Regions from separate parts of the Homo sapiens genome. Here region 1 is linked to region 2. The links are contacts of gene promoters, found by promoter capture Hi-C in human tissues and cell types (Jung and others, 2019). All regions are on one chromosome and are shown on one strand. The core of a region is centred on a gene start or on the middle of the fragment in contact, and the rest is flanking DNA. Distances in the headings are between cores, read along the strand shown.

Region 1 (4,339 bases), core at 207-2,706, 340 kb after region 2:
GATTAAAGGCCAGGCGCAGTGGCTCATGCCTGTAATCCCAGCACTTTGGGAGGCTGAGGCAGGTGGATCATGAGGTCAGGAGATTGAGACCATCCTGGCCAACAAGGTGAAATGCCATTTCTACTAAAAATACACACACAAAAAATTAGCTGGGCATGGTGGTGTGTGCCTGTAATCCCAGCTACTCGGGAGGCTAAGGCAAGAGAATCACTTGAACCAGGGAGTAGGAGGTTGCAGTGAGCCAAGATCGTGCCACTGCACTCCAGCCTGGCGTCAGAGTGAGACTCTGTCTCAAAAAAAAAAAAAAAAAAAGTAGGAATTAAAGTAATAGCTATTTGAGAACAACGTATCTAACCCTGAAATTAAGTTGCCTGCTTCCAGACAAGATGGTAAATTGCAGAGCCAAGACTTCCACTCTCTACGTCTGCCTCCACGGTCTCCCTATGAGCTGCCCTCTTATCAAGGCATACAGCAAGGACCAAGTCAACCAATAAAGTGTTTGAAAGAGGCTGGCAAATTGTCAAGTGCTGTATCGATGCACTTTGTCATTGTTATTAAAGATGGGACTTGGGGTTAAGTTCTGAGACGACCCTAACATCTAGCAATGCAAGATTGTCCACATGAGTCGGCAGTGGGCTTTGAGTGACAGCTGAAAATTCTGCTGCTGAAGGTCACGGTAGAGCTTGGCAGGGCTGAGCATGGTTAATAGATTTGATCATCATGTTTTATATTTAAAACTTTTATTTACACAGTATAGTTTAGCAATCGCTGCTGCCTGAGCATTTTACTAATTGATTTATGTTAACTTCCATGCATGCTGTTGATCAATATAAACAGCCTTGTAGTGTTGCATCCTTGGAGATTTAGAGAAAACCCTGACATTCATGCACTCAGTATGCTGGGCGACCTCTCCAGCCCTCTTCCACAGGGGAAAGGAGCACAGATAACTGTGGATTATCTAGATTTTTCTACATTGCCATGTGTGCCTGTTTCCAATCAATTCCAATAGACAAGCTTGTACAGCAAATCTTTTTTAACATCAAATTGCTAGCAACGATACTGACATGCATATCACCCTTAGGCTGGGGATTTTTATGAAAACGTTAGATAAATCTTACTTGGGTAATAAATTCATCTGGCTGAACTTGGTGGAAAAGGATGTGTGTGTGCACGTGTGTGTGTGTGCACGTGTGTGTGTGTGCACGTGTGTGTGTGAGAGAGAGAGAGACAGAGAGAGAGAGGTTTTTTTTCTGCTTGTGATATTTTTAACTGGAGGGATTTCATGTTTACCTGGCTCAGGCAATAAACCCAACCTGGGTGACTCATTTCCACCAAATGTGAGCACCCTAAAATAGCATTTACATCTGACCTTTTCAGTTTGAAAACAGCTGACTCTGTAACAGGAAATTGAAGCTTCTCGGGGAGAAAAGGCCAGGCTGAATTAGGTGGAAGGAGTCAGTATGGGAGCCTTCAGATCTCCCGTGTATGTGGCCAGGAGTGCTGTGGGAGGTCAGCGGGGGATGGAGGGGATTCCTTCCATTAGACTCGAATAGGCTTAAAAGCCTGAGCAACTTTCCTAAGGGTCTTTAAGAAAGCCTTGCTAGGCTGGGCACGGTGGCTCATGCCTGTAATTCCAGCACTTTGGGAGGCCAAGGCAGGCAGATCACCTGAGGTCAGGAGTTTGAGACCAGCCTGACCAACATGGTGAAACCCCATCTCTACTAGAAATACAAAAATTAGCCAGGCATGGTGGCGCCCGCCTGTAATCCCAGCTACTCAGGCTGGGGCTGAGGCAGGAGAATCACTTGAACTCGGGAGGCGGAGGTTGCGGTGAGCCGAGATCGCACCACTGCACTCTAGCCTGGGAGACAGAGCGAGACTTCATCTCAAAAAAATTAAAATAAAATAAAATTAAATTAAATTAAAATAAAATAAAATAAAATAGAAAAGAAAGCTTTGCTATTCTTGTTCACTTTGGAAAACCAATATTTTCCTGAGCTATTAGGAGTTAATATAATAGATATAAACATTAAATTACATTTTTAAAGTACAGAGAGAAGCCATTTTTTACCTTTAAAATAATTTTTATTTTAACCAAGTAATGCACATGTATAGTTTCAACATCAAATAATGGTGAAAGGCTTCTGACGGAAAACAGCAGTGCCCCATTCGCTTGGCAGCTTCACTTTGCTCCTCAGAAGCAACCACCGCTGAATTCTTTTAGCTGTTTCTTCTGGCATTTTCTCCAATATTTTCAAATCACATCAGTGTATTATTTCATGAATGATCAATTTTGAACAATGTCTGTTGCTTTCATATTATACCTAGGTGAGGACTTCTGACTTTCTTACACCCCTCTTTCTTTTCTCCTTATACCCCAGTAGTATAATTCCACGTTTTGTTGTAATTACTATTGTTTCCATTATTATGACTATGCAGATATTGTTTACTTCTAAGCCAGGGAATGTACTATGATTATACCTTTATGATTTTATTTCCTTTCTTCTCAACTTACTTATAAAATCTTCATTTTCCCATTTCCTGGATTTATTTCAAGTCTTTATCTTAGTTTTCTTGTATTCTCCAATAGCTGTATAGAATGCTCCTCAATGCAATTTTTCAACTCAGCCAAACCTGTCAGATAACCTACCAGTTTTATTTATTTTTTCTCCTTGATTTCTCTCTCCTGGAGCCCTCCCTTATGCTCCCTTTTGGCTTGGTTCTTCTCTAAGACTGCTGAACAGATTTTATCCTGGGGTCTCTCTTCCATTATCCTGGAATTCCCTTTACCTTTCTCCTGTGCTAGATTCCCTATTTCTTTCATCCAAAGTCTTCTTTTTCAGTAGTTACTTCCCCATGTTAGTGGACCTCCTTCCCTTGTAGTTTCCTACAGAGTACTAGAGAATTAACTTCTTGTATGACTTTGCATGTCTGAAAATGTCTTATTTCACCCACACCCCAATGGATAGTTTGGCTGGGTATAGAATCTTTCTCTTACAATTCTGAAGGTATTGTTTAATTTTTTTCTGGCTTCTGGTTGTTGAAAAGTCCAGTTCCGTACTGTTACCTGATCCTTTGTGACATTCCTCTCTGAATGCTTTTAGGATCTTCTCTATCTGTGATTCTAGAATAATTTCATTATGATGGGTCTTAGTGTGGGTTGGGCTTATGTCTGGTACTGGGAAATTTTAAAATGTTTTTTCTTTGTCTACTACTTATTGTTTTCTCTGTTCTCTCTCTCTGGAAATCTCTTAGTCAACTGTAGGACCTCCTGGATTGACCTAATTTTCTTTTTTTTTCTCTTCAGTTTTTTTTCCCTTTTGGGAAATTTCCTCAGCATAAATTTCTACTCCTTTTACAGAACCTGCTGCTCTTGATTCCAGAACCTTCTAGTTTATTTCTTTGGAAAATATACCCCCATCTACTATAAGTGTAGAGGAGAGGGAAGTCACTTCCTATGCTGGGTTACAGGAGGGCAAGAATACTATGAGTCCAACAGCTTCTCATCCAGACCTGTAGAACATTCTCCCTGCTTTCAGCCCTCATCTTAGTCTCAGCTACCTCTGTACCTGGTACTTCAAGTTCCTGAGCAGGTCTAGGGTTCCCAGGGCAAATTGGCTTGCTTTTCCATATTGTCTCCCTCTGCCAGAACTTAAATTTAACTTTCTTCTGCTCACTCAATCTATTTTATCACTTCATATATTGTGGGTTAGTGATACAGATGGCATCTAGTTTCACCCAAATTGTACTTGGGTTTCTTTTTTTTCCCTCCTATTTGTTGTGAATTGATTTTTTAGAGTAGAAGGGGACAGATATTTCTTCATTTTGCCATCTTGGAACTGGAAGTCAAGCTGTCTATTTAAAGGGTTTCTCAAGCTACTCCTTTGTATAGTAAAGTAAAAGATCATTTGATGTATCATCTTTCCAAAACTTTTGCATGTTACTGAATACTAGCAGTGAATGAAATCAGTGTTTCTGCTTACGTACCTGGCCTTAATTATCTCTTGTCATAATGATCATTATTAACTTAAACATTTTTTTCTTATTGTGGTAAAATATACAAAACATAAAATTTACCATTTTAACCATTTTTAAGTGTACAGAATGGAATTAAGCACATTTACATTGTTGTGCAACCATCATCTCTGTAACCTTTTTATCTTCTCAAATTGAAACTTGGTACCAACTAAACTCCTTCAATCCCCACCCAGTCCTTGGCAATTACCATTCTACTTCTGTCTCAATAAATTTGACTACTTTAGGTACTTTATATATGTGGAATCGTACTATATCTGTCCTTTTGTATCTAGCTTATTTCACTTAACATAACGTCTTTAAG
Region 2 (4,651 bases), core at 1,211-3,710:
GATCTTGAGATGGCCAGATTATCTGGGTGGGTCCTAAATCACATGTATCATTATGAGAGGGAGGCAGAGGGAATTTGACCACATACACAGGAGAAGATGACATGAAGATGGAGATAGAGATTTGAAGATACTGGCCTTGAAGATAGAGTGATGCAGTCACAAGCCAAGGCATGCTGGCAGCCACCAGAAGCTGGAAAAGGGAAGGAGCAATTCTCTGCTAGAGACTCCAGAGGGAGCCCGGCCCTGCTGCCACCTTAATTTTGGCCTAGTGATACTGATTTTGGACTTCTAGCCTCTAGAGTTGTGACAGAATAAACTTCTGTTGTCAGGGTTGGGATAATTTGTTACAGCAGCCACAGGAAACTAATATAGCCAGTCACTTTGGATTAATGAATTAATAACCGGAAAGACAACTACTGGCTACTCTGTTAACCAACCATCTAGTATCCATTCTGGTTCACCGTGCCACTTCTGATTTAACATCCTTTATTTTCCTTTTGCATTCTATTGAATGCCAGGTGGCCCATAGCTTTTCTCTTAAAATGGTGATTTCTATGTCAGTGTTTTGATGGTGGATGGAACAGTGGGGTCTCCCTATTTTCTTCATAGATACCCCAGATAATTTCGATGCATGGATCCAGTTGGAAGGTATTAATCTAGGTAAGGGGTGCAGAAGTCTGATGACTTTGCTCCACAACAGAGAATACTACTTTGATGACAGGCACGTGGTATCTCCCAGATCTAGGGTCTCTTTTCCTTGAATAGCGGAAGAAATAAGCAAACCCTTGAGGTTTGATTTATTTCCTTATTTTCTTAAGCCCTGTCACTTCTCAAGGCCTTAATAAAATTTACTCTAATGAGGTGATCTTCATTTGTTTACTATAACCGACTCGATCATCAGCTATAGCCTCATTCTTTTTTTTTTTTTTTTTTTTGATACTGAGTCTCGCTCTGTCACCCAGGCTGGAGAGCAGTGGGGCATCTTGGCTCACTGCCAGCTCCGCCTCCCGGGTTCACGCCATTCTCCTGCCTCAGCCTCCGGAGTAGCTGGGACTACAGGCGCCCGCCACCACGCCTGGCTAATTTTTTGTATTTTTAGTAGAGACGGGGTTTCACTGTGTTAGCCAGGATGGTCTCGATCTCCTGACCTCGTGATCCACCCGCCTCGGCCTCCCAATGTGCTGGGATTACAGGCTGAGCCACCGCGCCCGGCCTAGCCTCATTCTTTTACAATAAGATAACATGATATATGTTGATACAACACGTTTTCTTTCTTTTTTGAGATGGAGTCTGTCTCTGTCGCCCAGGCTGGCGAGCAGTGGGGCGATCTTGGCTCACTGCAAGCTCCGTCTCCTGGGTTCACGCCATTCTCCTGCCTCAGCCTCCGGAGTAGCTGGGACTACAGGCACCCGCCACGTCGGCCGGCTAAATTTTTGTAGTTTTAGTAGAGACGGGGTTTCACCGTGTTAGCCAGGATGGTCTCGATCTCCTGACCTCGTGATCCACCTGCCTTGGCCTCCCAAAGTGCTGGGATTACAGGCGTGAGCCACTGCGCCCGGCCAACACGTTTTCTTAAGATTAAACCTGTTACATAAATGATCGTTCATAATTTTTGGAAGCACACCTGCCCTTAGTATCCTGTTTTTCCACTGGGTGCTTTCTGCAGATGGCCAACGTAGCCATCACATTCGGATTCTTCCTGACTTCATTCTCAGAGGATTACTTTATCTTGAAGTGCTGAAGGCTCCAGGCACCATCTATAACGACAACTCCCAACTTTCCAGCTCATCTCCAGCCTGTGCTTCTCCCCGACTCAACTCATTTTCAACCACGTGCTAGGCCTCCACCCTTGGATGTCGAAGAGCCATCTCCAGTTCCACCCAGTTCATCTTCATCAGAACATCTATGAGTCGTCGTCTCTGCAGTCCATTTGTTTGCCCGCTTGGGAACAGCAAGCTCCTTAAGGGCAGGACTACTACCGCGCTCTCAGAGGCGCTGCACTGGAACATCGCGGGCACAGGGCAGCGTTGGTCACTGCTCCTGGGTACTAGGGCAGCAAATAAACCCAGCAGCTGCGTCTGTCTGCCTGGAGTTGGATCTTTTTGGTATAGATCCAAACGTAGAAGTATAAGGTCTACGTTTATGTACTTGTCAGATATTTAATGACCTCCAACGATAGACATGCCCCCCCAACACCTCCTTCAGTCTTTTTGATTCTTTGAGAATCTTTGAACCACGCAGGATCCTAGCCCTAGGGTGCGGTCGGACTTGCCGCGACGCCAGCCGCCGGGGTTCCTTCCCGAGGCGCCGCCATGGGATCCGCGGTGACCTACGAGGGGCGGCTGGGTGGTGGCCATTGGGCGACGGCGCAGGGTCAAGGGCCGGGCTCTGGGATCGTGGGGAGACCGGGGGTCCCGGAGCCCCCCAGCCCCGCAGGCCACTGCCTCGCCGCCCGACGTCACTTCCGACTGGAGTCAAGATGGCGGCGGCGCGGCCGCGGGCGCCGGGGCCGGCGAAACAGCGGCGGCGGCGGCGGCCCTCGGTGCTCTGAGGCGCTGGCGCGGCGGGCGCGGGTAAGGAGTGGCGCGGGTGGGCGGCCTCTGGGCTCGCGCCGGGACGCTGGTCCCTCCCCCCGAGGAGCGCGGCGGCGACGGCGGCGGCGACACGCTGGGGACCCGGCGCCGCAGGGATGGCCGGGTCGGCGGACGCGCCCCCTCAGAGGTCCCGGGCGTGCCGGGGGCCCCGGGACGAGGCGCGGGCCTCCGGGTCGGTGGCCCCGCGGGTGGGTGGCGGCGCCGGGCTCCTCCTTGTCGGCCGTGGGGTCCCTGCGGCGAAGTTCGGGATTCGGTTTGTCGCCGTGAAGAGCCGCGCGCCCCGCGGGGGACGCGTGCGGGCTGCAGAGACTGGCCGGGTGCGGGCGGCGGTGGGGCCACCTGGGGCCCCACGTGGGGCCGGGCGCCGTCCCAATTGTCAAGCCGCTGTGCTTTTCTCTTTTGTGTTCCCACTGAGTGTGTCTTGCACATTTGCACTCCAAATTTGTTTTGTGTCTTGCGTCTTTGTGTTTCCCAAATAGTTTTTGTGTGGTTTTAACCTGGAGATTGTCTCCCTCAATGTTCCCATAGACCCACGGGTGTATGTGTGTGTGTGCGCACGCGCGCGTGTGTGTGTGTTACAGACGTGCAACTCTGTTACTAATTTTGCTAATAAAGCTATCAATGAACCTCTTTTGATGGTGGTAAGTGAGACATGAAGTAAACCTAACAGGTCAGTGTCATTCCCCAAACCTTCGTGGTTCTTTCGATCCACGCGTGAGCCACCGACCCTCCGGGCTTGTAGCTTTGTGTCGGGCTGTGAGCTGCGGCAAAGACCCCATAGTTAACCGGGAAGTCCTGATTTCCTTAACTACGCAGCTGAAATTTCCCCTAACAGAAATTTCGTGCTGGCCCCTCACTTTTCTTTTAGTGTTGTATTGAGATTTTGGGTGTATTTGAGACGTGGAACGTCTTTTGCTGAATCCCAGTAGGTCCTTAGATCCCTTTAACCAGACACTAGAAGAATCATTTTTACCCCAGAACTCGACTAAAATGTTTAAGTTTTTGTTTACTCCAGGTTTATTAAAAGTGACCGAAACTTTTAACAACAAATGGAACTCTTCAATGATTTCTTTTACAATGGTACACACTTCGCCTCGGTTTGATCAGTTGTGTCCAAGTATTAGAAAAATGTAGGCCTTTTAAAAAAAAACATGATAGGAAATTTACATATATTAAGGAGGAGGAACTGAGACACACTGTCATACGTTCTTTTTTAGTAGGGTTCTGTGTTTTTGAGATGGTCCAAACTGCCCCATCACTCTTGAGGCTTCCGGACTAACACTTATTGGCCAAATTTTTACATGTAGAATCTTAGTTTAGCCTTGAGATGACCTTTAAAGATCATTTTTATTAAACCCCCTCATTTCGAGCTATGGAAACAAATCAAAATTCACAGTGGAACTAAAACTCATTTACATTTTCTGTGATTCCAGGGCTCTTTTTACTCAACACATCTGTTTTGGTTTGATTGAAATAAGTTAATACATTTTAAGTGCTTAGAAAAGTGCCAGAACATGATAATACTGCTCAGTAAATGTTTGCTTTTGTTGATTCTGAAGGTGGTTTCTTTAATTGAAAGGTTGGTATGTTCAGGTTTGTTTTTTCCTTATTTTGTGGACAGGGCCTGAAACAGTACAGTTTAAATCTGTAAGAATGTATTAATTTTGTAAGTACAAAACATAACAAAAGATTCTCACTGTAGAAAATTGGAAAGTAGAGAAAAGCACAAAGAAGAAACAGAAATTGGGCATAACCTTCCCCTCTTCAGATAACCATTGTTAACGTTTGGCAGATCTTCCTGTCTCTCTTGGTGTGGATATGCGTATTTCTTTCCTTATTTTACAGTTCATTCACATATATATATATTTATTTACATTTTATACAGGATTGATAATATAGTGTGTATATTGTTTGCAACCTGTCTTGCCTTATGATACGGTGAGCATGTATCCATGCCACTAACTAGTCAATATTATGTTTAATGGCTATTTAATATGTGGATGGGCCGTAAGTTATCAATCAAGTCCATATTGATCTGTAAGGTTTCTCAAGCCTGA

What was found. The method cuts DNA at HindIII sites, captures the fragments that hold promoters and counts their contacts. A contact is called where the count stands out against the background at its distance.
Region 1: a fragment that was not itself captured here is called in contact with the fragment with the promoter of PRDM2 in region 2 in 1 of the 25 tissues and cell types used here (pancreas).

What each region holds. Positions count from the first base shown.
Region 1 is chr1:14,038,877-14,043,215 of GRCh38, forward strand. It overlaps a transcript of KAZN not described here. Among named protein-coding and RNA genes, the nearest start is that of PRDM2, 340 kb to the left of the region's middle. The HindIII fragment of the contact is 4,746 bases long and covers 1-3,829 here.
Region 2 is chr1:13,697,728-13,702,378 of GRCh38, forward strand. It overlaps PRDM2 (PR/SET domain 2), which reads left to right and starts at 2,461. Exons shown (of 10, transcript NM_001393986.1): 1 at 2,461-2,573. RefSeq lists a silencer at 2,214-2,983. The HindIII fragment of the contact is 18,174 bases long and covers 1-4,651 here.